Regions from separate parts of the Homo sapiens genome. Here region 2 is linked to region 1. The links are contacts of gene promoters, found by promoter capture Hi-C in human tissues and cell types (Jung and others, 2019). All regions are on one chromosome and are shown on one strand. The core of a region is centred on a gene start or on the middle of the fragment in contact, and the rest is flanking DNA. Distances in the headings are between cores, read along the strand shown. Region 1 holds the start of GPR3 (G protein-coupled receptor 3). Region 2 overlaps TMEM222 (transmembrane protein 222).

Region 1 (6,375 bases), core at 1,278-3,777:
ATGACGACAGCCAGGGAGTCACAAGAGTGTGGTGCTGGTGCTGGCAAACAGGAATGGCTTTATCTGCAGCAATGGTGAAGATTTTTCACCAGAGGATCAATAAGCTACGAAAACTTAAAAAATATATAATTGCCATTCAGAGTAGTAGAAGATAGTCCCTGATACCCCCCTTTGATGCCAACCTCCCAGCAGCCTTCACCCATCGCAGAGACCAGAACTCTGTAGGGACCCAGCTCTGATGGGGGAGTAAATGGATCCCTGACCCTGAGTCTTGGGGCCCTGATGCCCTTGGATCCTCTCTCTGACACCCCCACCTTCCTGGGCACCAGGCATATTACTATTCTCTCTGTTTTCCTTTTTTCCTCTGGTTGTTCCCTTTTAGGTCAATCATCCAGTCCATGATTATTTCTTCAATACCCATTACATATCAGGCACTGTTCTCTAGCAGAAATGGGACATAGTCAGTATCCTCTTGGAGCTTAGATTCTAGTGGGGCTGACATGTAGTAAAACAAACAAACATGAATTCATTTATAATTTCAAGAGTGCTTCATCCTCCAAAAATGAATAAATCAAGAGAAGGGGAGGGAGAGTGATGGGGAGGCCAGTGGCGATCTGAGAGTTCAGAGCAGCCTGTTTCAGAAGTAATTCGGGAGCAGAGACCTGGATGAAGAGAAGGGTTGTTGTCAGAGGGGTCAGGTGCAAGAGCCCAGGAGGAGGAGCCCCTGAAGCCACTCCTCACTCTCTGCTCCCGCCCCTGGGTGACATTATTTACCCCTAAAACATCAGTTGCCACCTGCATGCCTACACCTCCCAGGTGTCCCTCATTATCCAGCTGTAACATTGATGGCCAATGGCAAGTAGAACCCACTCAACAACCCCATGAGGCCGGTACTAATATTATCCCTGTGTTTTAGATGAGGAAATAGGCACAGAGAGCTGAAGAAACTCTCCAAAGTCACCCAGCTAGGAAATGGAGAAACTGAGATTGGACACTTCCACCCCCTAAGCCCCCTAAACTCACCACATCCAACCTGAAATGAATCCTCTTCTCCAGCTCCGACCCCCTCCTCCTCCCATGTTCCCTGCCACTTGACCTTCTGCTGCCTCACACTCAAACCCAAAACCTGCCTGGTGGAGGCTGACCATGGGGGCTGCAGTGATGGTGCTGTGATGGGGGTGTCCAGTGGGGCCTGGGATCCTCAGGCCTCTTAACCTCATCTTCCCCTCCCACAGGCCTGCATGATTCCAGGGAGCATCAAGGCAAGAGACACAGGGAGAAGGAGCAGCCAGTCCCCCTGCCGCAGGACTGGCCACATCTGTCACATCTGGAGAAGTCTGCCCAGAGTGGTTCCCCTGGACTAAGGGCAGATGGCGTTGGGGAAGAGGGAGCTCTTTCTCCTTGCTCCACCCATCAGGATGCCTAAAATAGGAGGCTGAGAGGGGCCTGCCCTGAGGACTGAGCTGCCAGGCTTTCTGCTTCCAAGTTCTTCCCGGCTCCCCATCTCCTCCTGCTTCAGGGAAGTGCACCCCTCACCCCCTCCACGCTGGCTTTCTAGATACTGGAATAAATAATTCAGGTTTTGAAATCTTGCCAGGCCCACCCCTCCGGTGCTGTGAGGGCGCTATTGGGCTGACATGAGTGACGTCACCCAGCTCTTATCCCAGCCCCGGCATCACGGGACTTGCCCTGGCAGCAACTTACCTGCCTGGTCACTGTCAGTCCAGACCCTCTACCCTGTGCCCCTCACCCTGGAGCCCACTCACCACAGCCACCTGCTATCTTCGTTCCAGGGCCCCACAGTCCTCATGGCTTAGCATTGTCGCTTCAGTACCCCAGCCATTCTGACAGGGTAATGGTGACCTGAAGTCACCTGGACACTCCATGTTCCCAGGCCGCTGCCTCTGCCATCCCGGGGTCCCTGAACTCCCCCCTGCTGCATAGTCACCCTGACACTGCCATGGTTGCCCTGAGGGCTTCCCCTCTACCGTTAGCGTCCCACGGCCATCACCCCCCACCCCAAGATTCTGTCACCATGCTAATGTCGTCACTGCCACCCACCTCCCCGCTCCCTCGTGCTCCCTGTCATCGTCACCTCAGGGCCCCATCATCTTGGAAACCCTGTCATTCTCACCAGGGAAGCCCAACCAGCCCCATCACAAGCTCTTCCTTCGTCACCTGGATCTCGTCAGCCTCTCTGCCACCCAAGGGTCCCATCACCCCACAGCCTAGCCGGGCCCCCTTTCCACTCTTCCACCACGTTCCCTGCAGCCTCTCTGAGACTTCAAGGCTCTCGCACCGGCGCCTCTGAAACCCCCGGCCCGCAGAGGGCGCCGCGTCAAGGACAGCGCGGGCGGACTCGGGAGGGGGCGGGGCCGCAGCCACGGTCGCTTTTTATGAATGGGGGAGCGGGCGGTGCGAGGCCTTATTACTATGCCGCGCAACGCGCGCTGCGCCCCAGCGCGCCGCGCCCATTGGCTGATCGGACCGCTGACGTCACCGAACCGGTGGCCGGGGGCGGGGCGGGGTGACTCACGCCGCTTCTCCCGCGGCCGCGGGGGCTTCTCGGGGTCCACGCACGCCCTGCGCCGCCAGGACCCGAGCGGAGCCTCCCCGCGGCCCGGCCGCGCCTGGTCCTGAGCGGTGAGTAGCGGGCCCCGCCGCGGGCACCAGGGGTCCTGAAGGGCACGCAGGATGCTGGGGCACTGGGCCGGCGGAAGGCTCCTAGTGGCCGGCCGGGGTTCGAGTTCGAGGTGGGAATTCTGGGTTTAGGCGATTCTGGGTTAGCAGGCTTGGGCCCAAGTGCTCGAGTGCTGGGGTTGAGTTGGATGACCCGGCGAAGGGTAAGCATTCCTGCAGGGACCCGAGGCCCTGGAGGGACTGATGGTCATCTGAGGTTAAGCCGGCAGGAGGCGTCTGGGGCAGGGACCCAGGGGTCCGAACAGCAGGAGGTGTCCAATTTAGGAATCCAGGTATCCAGGCAGGAGGCAGAGTCAGGCCCAAAATCCAGGTGTCCGGGCAGAAGGAGGCATCTGACTCAGGGATCCAGTCTTCCAGCAGGGGGGTCTGCCCAGAGACCTAGAGATTCAGGCGGAAAGAAGGGTCCAGCCAGGAACAGAAGTCTGGGAGGGTGGGGGGTGGGGGGCTGAGTTCCCAGGTGTTACCGCGGGAGTGCGGGGTGATGGCTGGCGGGAGCTTCACGCGCATTCCCTGGGGGCGGAGTCTAAGGCTGGCAGTACTGAAAATCGTGAGGGGTCTGGGAGCCTCAGGCACGAGCTAGCATCATCATCTCTGATGGGAGGGAGCGGAGCTGCTCAGTCTCCCTGATGGGGTAGATGTTTCCCTACCCCAATCTTGAGCCTTCGGGGGCATCCCCTGGATCCTATGGCCCTCTTCCACTTATAGTACCCCTTCTTCTGTCTCTCCTCTGGTCACACACGTGGGAAAAAGAGACCTGCAGGACCTAGGACAGGGATCCCCAGGAAGAGACCCCTGTTTAGAGGCCTGGGGGCATTGGAGGGGACAGCGGTATCCTGGGAAGAGCCCCAGGGCATGAATGTGGGGATAAGGCATTGGGACCCTATCAGGTATCCTGAGGAGAGACTCCCACCACGTATCCTGAGAAGCACCTCACCCCCTCCAGACCCCAACTCCCATCACCCAGCTTGGTCAGCTTCTCACAAGGCCTTTCTCCTGCAGGTACCATGATGTGGGGTGCAGGCAGCCCTCTGGCCTGGCTCTCAGCTGGCTCAGGCAACGTGAATGTAAGCAGCGTGGGCCCAGCAGAGGGGCCCACAGGTCCAGCCGCACCACTGCCCTCGCCTAAGGCCTGGGATGTGGTGCTCTGCATCTCAGGCACCCTGGTGTCCTGCGAGAATGCGCTAGTGGTGGCCATCATCGTGGGCACTCCTGCCTTCCGTGCCCCCATGTTCCTGCTGGTGGGCAGCCTGGCCGTGGCAGACCTGCTGGCAGGCCTGGGCCTGGTCCTGCACTTTGCTGCTGTCTTCTGCATCGGCTCAGCGGAGATGAGCCTGGTGCTGGTTGGCGTGCTGGCAATGGCCTTTACCGCCAGCATCGGCAGTCTACTGGCCATCACTGTCGACCGCTACCTTTCTCTGTACAATGCCCTCACCTACTATTCAGAGACAACAGTGACACGGACCTATGTGATGCTGGCCTTAGTGTGGGGAGGTGCCCTGGGCCTGGGGCTGCTGCCTGTGCTGGCCTGGAACTGCCTGGATGGCCTGACCACATGTGGCGTGGTTTATCCACTCTCCAAGAACCATCTGGTAGTTCTGGCCATTGCCTTCTTCATGGTGTTTGGCATCATGCTGCAGCTCTACGCCCAAATCTGCCGCATCGTCTGCCGCCATGCCCAGCAGATTGCCCTTCAGCGGCACCTGCTGCCTGCCTCCCACTATGTGGCCACCCGCAAGGGCATTGCCACACTGGCCGTGGTGCTTGGAGCCTTTGCCGCCTGCTGGTTGCCCTTCACTGTCTACTGCCTGCTGGGTGATGCCCACTCTCCACCTCTCTACACCTATCTTACCTTGCTCCCTGCCACCTACAACTCCATGATCAACCCTATCATCTACGCCTTCCGCAACCAGGATGTGCAGAAAGTGCTGTGGGCTGTCTGCTGCTGCTGTTCCTCTTCCAAGATCCCCTTCCGATCCCGCTCCCCCAGTGATGTCTAGCTGAGTCTTCATGACCCTTCAACCCTGATTACTACAGAATTCCAGAATGTTAGGCTCTCCAGGGCTTCTTTCCAAACCCCCAGCTCCACACCCCCCAGACCCAGCTGGTTCTGGAGTTCTAGGACATTGGGTGTTTCAAGGTTCTGTTCAGATCCCTATGGGGGCCCAGCTGGCTCCACGGTTCCAGAATGTTCAGGTGGTCAGTGTTCTACTCAGAAATGTCTCACAGCCCAGCTGGGTTGCAATTCCAGAATGCTGGGAGTTTTACAGTGCCATTCCAAGTCCCAGATGTCCCTCTTCCCCCAAACTTGACCTTGACCATGTCACTTTATGTTTGAATTTCTGAGCTAAAGAGTCAGAGAGATTAGTCACATAGTTGCCTAAATAGGAGAGAGAAAGATTATATATGCACATATACAAAGACAGTGTCTATTTATGATTGATTTATTTATTTATAAATTTACTTATGGGTGGTAAGGGGCAAAAAAGAGGCCCACACCTTGATATCCAGGCCATACCAGGGTATCCCTTGTCCCTTCACCCCCATTTCTGACCTCAGTTCCTGGAGGGGGGAAAGGGTGAAAGAGAAACCACGTATTTTGTTATTATTTTGGATTATTTTTTATCGAAGAGATCATAGAAACCAGAGCCTTCTCCCCAGGCCTGCCCTCCTCGGGTTTGGAAGGGGAACACACCAGCCTCTGGTTTTTTATTTTTTTAAGAAGCCATCACCTGAGCAACCAAAAATTCCTCTGCGCTGGGGTCCGACTGCCCTCTGGTGGCCATTTGGGGAAAACTGCAGCCCGGCCAGGCAGCTGGGACCAGAATGCAACCCCAGCTCCACTCCAGCCTGGCGTCCAGGGCCACAGCCATGGCCTGGGGGCCAAGCCTCACCCTGCGGTGCCCTAAAGGAGGGGGGGCACGAGCCAACACCCCACCCCTCTGCCAACCGGGGTATGGCCCCCAGTGCATTCCCTGTTCCCGTCTCCAACCCAACTCAATAAAAAATGATTTTGTCATAAATATGTTTCCCTATGTGTGTGTGGAGGGTATGGAGTGGGGCCTGATGGGGGATGGCCTGGAATGAGAGGGTCAAGCCAGGCCTGGGGGGCCTGTTGGGGGATCTGGGGAGCTGGACAGAGGGTGGAGGGTGGCTGGCAGGTGACTCCTTCTCAGATGTCAGTGCCCCTCTGCTCAGACCTGGGCACTGACTGGCAAGGACCTTACCTCCTCCTGGTGACAGGAACCTGGGTGCTTGGCTCTTCCTGGGTCAAGGATGCTCACATCCTGCCCACACCGGCCACTGTGGGGCTTAGACATGATGAATATGCTCAAAGCATGTCAGTTTCCTTAATAATAATAGGTCCTACTTTTTTTTTTTTTTTTTTTTTTTTTGAGACAGAGTCTCGCTCTGTCCCCCAGGCTGGAGTGCAGTGGCGTGATCTCGGCTCACTGCAAGCTCCACCTCCCGGGTTCACGCCATTCTCCTGCCTCAGCCTCCCGAGTAGCTGGGACTACAGGCGCCCACCATCACGCCCGGCTAATTTTTTTTGTATTTTTAGTAGAGACGGGGTTTCACTGTGTAAGCCAGGATGGTCTCGATCTCCTGACCTCGTGATCCACCCGTCTCAGCCTCCCAAAGTGCTGGGATTACAGGCGTGAGCCAACGCGTCTGGCC
Region 2 (6,375 bases), core at 1,800-4,299, 65 kb before region 1:
AGGAGCAAGAGGGAGTGAGGGGGGAGATGCTACACACTTTTAAACAACCAGATCTTGGGAAAACTCACTATCACGAGAACAGCACCAAAGGGATGGTGCTGAACCATTTATGAGAAAACCAGCCTCATGATCCCACCACCAGCCCCCACCTCCAATATGGGGACTACAGTTTGACAGGAGATTTGGCGGGGACAGATCCAAACCATGTCACCTTCAAAGGACTCACCTCCAGCAGGAGGGAGAGAAAGGTCAATTAGCCATCGTAGTATTACTGTATAGTGATGATTGCAGAGCTAGGCATAGATGTGGCGCAAGTAACTGTCACCTGTCTTTGGAGGAGAGATCAGAGGAGGAAATGGAACCCAAAGATCTGTCTACCCCCTCAGAGATGTTGGTAATTCTGCATGAAAAACCAGTTTAGTGCTCGCCTCAGCAGCACATATACTAAAATTGGAACGATACAGAGAAGATTAGCATGGCCCCTGCGCAAGGATGACATGCAGATTCGTGAAGCGTTCCATATTTTTGTCTCCCTGGACTTCGAGCAGGAGATGGCCACTACCACATCCTCCTCCCTGGAGAAGAGCTACAAGCTGCCGGATGGCCAGGTCATCACCATCAGCAACAAGCGGTTCCAGTGTCCGGAGGCGCTGTTCCAGCCTTCCTTCCTGGGTATGGAATCTTGCGGCATCCACGAGACCACGTTCAACTCCATCATGAAGTGTGACGTAGACATCCGCAAAGACCTGTACACCAACATAGGGCTATCCAGAGGCACCACCATGTACCCGGGCATCACCGACAGGATGCAGAAGGAGATTAACGCCCTGGCATCCAGCACCATGAAGATCAAGCTCATTGTGCCCCCAGAGTGCAAGTACTCTGTGTGGATCAGCGGCTCCATCCTGGCCTCACTGTCCACCTTCCAGCAGATGTGGATTAGCAAGCAGGAGTATGACGAGTCAGGCCCCTGTATCGTCCACCGCAAATGCTTCTAAATGGACTGCGAGCCGATGCGTAGCATTTGCTGCATGGGTTAATTCAGAAGTATAAATTGGCCCTGGCAAATGCATATACCTCATGCTAGCCTCACGAAAATGGAATAAGCCTTCGAAAAGAAATTGTCGTTGAAGCTTGTATCTAATATCAGCACTGGATTGTAGAACTTGTTGCTGATTTTGACCTTGTATTCAAGTTAACTGTTCCCCTTGGTATTTGTTTAATACCCTGTACATATCTTTGCTTTCAACCCTTAGTACATGTGGCTTGGTCACTGCGTGGCAAGGTAAGAATGTGCTTGTGGAAGACAAGTGCGACTTGGTGAGTCTGCATGGCCAGCAGTCTCCGATCTTTGCAGGGTATTAATATGTCATGGCTGAGTGTTCTGGGATTTCTCTAGAGGCTGACAAGGGCTCCTGAACCAGTTGTTTCTGTCCTGCTGGTCTGTCAGGGTTGGAAAGGCCAAGCCATAGGACCCAGTTTCCTTTCTTAGCTGATGTTTTCCTGCCAGAACACTGTGGGCTGTGACTTGCTTTGAGTTGGAAGCAGTTTGCATTTACACCTGTAAATGTATTCATCCTTTTAATTTATGTAAGGTTTTTTTTTGTATGCAATTCTCGATTCTTTAAGGAGATGAGAACAGATTTTGGTTTTCTACTGTTATGTGAGAACATTAGGCCCCAGCGGCATGTCATTGTGTAAGGAAAAATAAAAGTGCTGCTGTAACCAAAAAAAAGGGAAAAAAAAGAAACTAGTTTAATAGCTGCTGCTACTAATAAAAACAGCTAAGATTAGATGCTTACTCTGTCCTAAACATTGTATGTTCACTCACTCAATCCTAATGTCAACCTATGAAAGTAGATACTGTTGTCACCATTTTATAGATGAGGAAGTAAGGCTTAGAAGCCAGTGTGGTGCTCTTTTGCTGAGTTAGCCTACCTTCCCAGATTGAGCTCCAGGATGAGTGAGTCATTTATTCATTTATTGTATCTTTATAAAGCACCTATTATGTACTAGGTCCTGAATAGAAGGTAGTCCACAAAGCGGCTCTGGAGCTGCCTTCCTGGAGCTTCCAGGCTGACAAACCACTTTGAGGGTTTCTTCTCTGGGGCTTCCAGCCTTTACTCTGATTTCCATCCACTGCTGCCAGCACAGCTGTGGCGTGTGGAATCCTGGTTGGACCCAGACTTCCTCCCAAGCAGATGAAAGGATTAGGGGGCAGAGATGGGGGTGGAGGGCAGTCCTGAGATCAGGATGAGCTACTTTCCCATAATCCTGAATGTCCATCCTGTGGCCTGTGGATCTTCTGCAACTTATTCTATGTTAGTGCAGTCAGTCAGATAGTGCTTATGTATTGAACACCTCGAGATGACAACATTGAGCAGCTGCCAAGCGGAAGGCAGAGTCCTAGGCACTGTGTAAATGGATAAGTCTATCCATTTAATCCTCACAATAGCTCCTCATTAAGGTAATTTTTACTATCCACAGAGAGATGGGAATTAGTAACTTGCCCAGAACAAAGGCAAGCCTCAACCCAGATGATATCTGAGCATGACTTCACTGTTGGCGTTTGTTTGTTGTTTTTAATTTTTATTTATTTATTTATTTAGAGACAGAGTCTTGCTCTGTCACCCAGGCTGGAATGCAGTGGCGTGATCTCAGCTCACTGCATCCTCCGCCTCCGGGGTTCAAGTGATTCTCGTGCCTCAGCCTCTCGAGTAGCTGGGATTACAGGCACATGCCACCATGCCCATCTAATTTTTGTATTTTTAGTATAGACAGGGTTTCGCCATGTTTCCCAGGCTGGTCTCGAACTCCTGACCTCAAGTCATCCACCGGCCTCTGCCTCCCAAAGTGCTGGGATTACAGGCGTGAGCCACTGAGCCCAGCCTTGACTCACTGCAGCCTCAACTTCCTGGGCCCAGCCTTGGCTCACTACAGCCTCAACTTCCTTGGATCAAGTGATCCTCCAGCTAATTTTTAGATTTTTTTAGATACAGGGTCTCACTGTGTTGCCCAGGCTGGTCTCAAATTCCTGGGCTCAAGCAATCCAACTGCCTTGGCCTTCCAAAGTGCTATGATTACAGGCGTGAGCCACAGCACCCAGCCCCAGACTCTACTCTTAAATGCAGGATGTTCATTCATTATTTAGTCAACAAATATTTAGTGAGTTGCAGCTATATACAGGCACTGCCGTAGTAAACAAGAAAAAATCCTGTCTCTCTTGGAGCTTATGTTCTAGTGGAGAGACAGCATATAAATAACCAAGATAATTTTGGATGGTAGTAGATACTATGAGGGAAGTAAAGCATTGTAGTGGGATCTGGGATTGGGTGGCTGTGCTGGAAGACACCGTTCAGGCAAGACCTCCGAAGGTGACAGTGAGGCTGAGGCCTAATCAGTGAGGAGTCAGCTGTGCCATGCTCTCTGGGAAGAGTGTTCCAGACGGAGGAGAGGGCAGATACAGAGAAAGCATGGGGTGGGAGGATTTGGCGTGTTTGAGGCCACAAGCAGGCAGTGTAGCTAGAGAGGGGACTGAGATGAAGTTCAAGGGATAATTAGCACCACAGTGTTGGAAGAAGTTCGAAGTGTATTATAAGTGTAGTAGGAAGCCATTAATAGGTGTTGAACAGGGGAATGATGGAATCTGAGTTCAATTCTCAAAAGACCACTCTGGCCCTACCATTGTCTCAAGCGCTCAAGCTGTAGACCTGGAAGACCCCCATCCTGTCAGTCGTAAACTCTCCAGTCTTCATTTGAAAGATCTTTTGAATCCATGTGTTTCTCACCACCCTGCCCCTGATCCTCTAGTCAGGACCTCCATCATCTCTTGCCAGTGGTACAGCAGTAGCCCCTGAGCTGGCCTCTCCCCCTTTCGTTCTTCCAGGCACATGTACCACTTTCTTGCTCTGCAGTGTTGTTTTCTGCCTGTTGATGTTGTGTCCTTTCACAGGTCAAGGTTAAAAGTCACCTCCTCTGTGAAGTCTTTACTGGCTCCACCCCAGCCCCCTGTAACTGCTTTTTTAAACTGCGTCTCTGGAGGCTTGGCCTGCACCCCTAGCCAGGTGCTTTATGCTCGTGCCCAGGCAGCATTGAGGCCAGGACTCGGCCACTGGCCCTGTGAGTTCTCCTTAAACTGGATCAGTCTCTCCAGCACCCAGGTCCTGTAGGGCCATGGTTCTCAGAACACAGACAGGTCTGGGGTTCCTATGTGTGACATATTGGGGTGCATCTGAGATTTATTGTTGTTTTTTAATGCCCATGGTTTATAAAAAAGGAACTTTTATTTCCTGGCATACACCATGCTTCTGTTCCAATTTCTACCCTTGCACATTCTGTTTCTTTGTTATTTCCTCAGGGAAGCCTTTCCTGAACTCCCCCACCCATACTGGTGTCATGACCGCCCACCTTTTTTTTTTTTTTTAACTTTCTTATTGAGGTATAACTTATGTACCAAACGGTGTGCGAATCTCAAGTATACAGCAGGAAGAATTTTTGCATATCACACACTCATGTAACCGCCACCCAGACGGGGGCTAGAAAGCAATGCTAAGACCCAGAGGACCCCCTTGTGCCCTCCCAGTCAGTTCTACCACAGATTCCACCCCGCTGTGGACCTCTAGCCATAGATCAGTCTTGCCTTTTCTTGGACTTCACGTAAACAGAGTGCTATGTTACGTACTCTGTGTAAGATTTCCTTCATTCACCCTTATGTCTGTGAAAGCCTGTGTTGTGTGTAGCAGAAGTGACACTGTTTTTCATTGTTATGGACTATTTCAATGTATAACTATACCACACTTATTCATCGTACTGTTGTTGAACATTTGGATTCTTTCTAGTTGTTTTTATCAATTTTATTGAATTATAGTTTACATATAATAAAATGTACACATTTTAAGAGTACAGTTCAATGAGTTTTGGCAAATGTTATTTCCCAGGGGTGAGGGCAAAGAAGGTTCCAAAAGTGAAACTGCTGAGGCATTTAGTATAGTGCCAAACTGTTTTCCAGAATGGTAGAAACAGGCCGGGTACGGTGGCTCACGCCTGTAATTCCAGCACTTTGGGAGGCCGAGGCAGGCAGATGACTTGAGGTCAGGAGTTCGAGACCAGCCTGGCCAACGTGATGAAACCTCATGTCTACTAAAAATACAAAAATTAGCCAGGCATGGTGGTGCACTCCTGTAGTCCCAGCTACTCGGGAGGCTGAGGCAGGAGAATTGCTTAAACCCAGGAGGCGGAGGTTGCAGTGAGCTGAGATTGTGCCACCGCACTTCAGCCAGGGCAAGAGAGCGAGACTCCATCTCAAAAACAAAATGGTAGGCCGGGTGCAGTGGCTTATGCCTGTAATCCCAGCACTTTGGGAGGCCAAGGCACGTGGATCACGAGGTCAAGAGATCGAGACCATCCTGGCCAACATGGTGAAACCCCATCTCTACTAAAAATACAAAAATTACCCAGGCGTGGTGGTGCACACCTGTAGTCCCAGCTACTCAGGAGGCTGAGGCAGGAGAATTGCTTGAACTCGGGAGGCGGAGGTTGCAGTGAGCCAATATTGTGCCACTGCACTCCAGCCTGGGCGACAGAGCGAGACTCCATTTGAAAAAAAAAAAAAGGTAGAAACAGTTTATCCCTCCCACCAGCAGTGAATGAGAGCTCTGGTTGTCCCTTGCCCTCACCTGCATTGGTGTTGCTGTCGTTTGAGTTACAGCCATCCTGGCGGGATGCTGAGGTATCCCATTGTGCTGTCGGTTTGCAGTTACCCTTGTCTGTGCTTCCCCAGCCTTCTGGACCACCCTAATGGCCACCTGTCAATGAAACGTAATATTCACATGCTTCTGTACTGTATGAAGGGTCCCCAGCGTCCGTCTAACTGGCTGAAAGATCCCCTAAGCTCTGTCCCTTCCCCGTCCTTTTCCTCACAGGTGGTTTTTCCCCATCATCGGCCACATGGGCATCTGCACATCCACAGGAGTCATTCGGGACTTCGCGGGCCCCTACTTTGTCTCAGTGAGTCCCCATTCTGCCCACCCGGGGGGTTCCAAGGTTTAAGTGGAAGGCTGTCCTGTCTTGCCTGCAGGCAGGCTTCGTCTCCCCAGACCCAGGAGAACGTAGATAACCCGCAGTCCTGGCCCTGGCCCTCTGCCCCTCACCAGTGTTTGACCCCTTTCCCCCTTCTCTTGCCTCCAGGACAGGCCGGGAGGGCAGTGTGGCCAGAAGGATTCTTAAGTAACTGACCCAGCCCTTTGCCCCCACCCCTGGGGTACCGAGACATGGGTAGGGATTAGAGGCAAGAGTGGAGAGTCAGACCATCCAGGAACCACATCTCTGGACCTTCAGAAGGTGGGAGTCAAGGTGGGGGGACACGGGAGGCTGATT

What was found. Contacts are between HindIII fragments. The study calls those that stand out against the background at their distance.
Region 2: a contact is called between a fragment that was not itself captured here and the fragment with the promoter of GPR3 in region 1, in 2 of the 25 tissues and cell types used here (bladder and spleen).

The regions. Positions count from the first base shown.
Region 1 is chr1:27,390,095-27,396,469 of GRCh38, forward strand. GPR3 (G protein-coupled receptor 3) reads left to right here and starts at 2,528. Exons shown (of 2, transcript NM_005281.4): 1 at 2,528-2,643; 2 at 3,700-5,720. The coding sequence starts at 3,705. The coding sequence ends at 4,697. RefSeq lists enhancers at 1,144-1,680, 1,681-2,217, 2,755-3,290, 4,119-4,916 and a silencer at 2,232-2,731. The HindIII fragment of the contact is 10,052 bases long and covers 1-6,375 here.
Region 2 is chr1:27,324,799-27,331,173 of GRCh38, forward strand. TMEM222 (transmembrane protein 222) reads left to right here. Exons shown (of 6, transcript NM_032125.3): 2 at 5,922-6,006. It also overlaps the pseudogene ACTG1P20 and the pseudogene RNU6-48P. Among named protein-coding and RNA genes, the nearest start is that of TMEM222, 5.8 kb to the left of the region's middle. The HindIII fragment of the contact is 5,020 bases long and covers 540-5,559 here.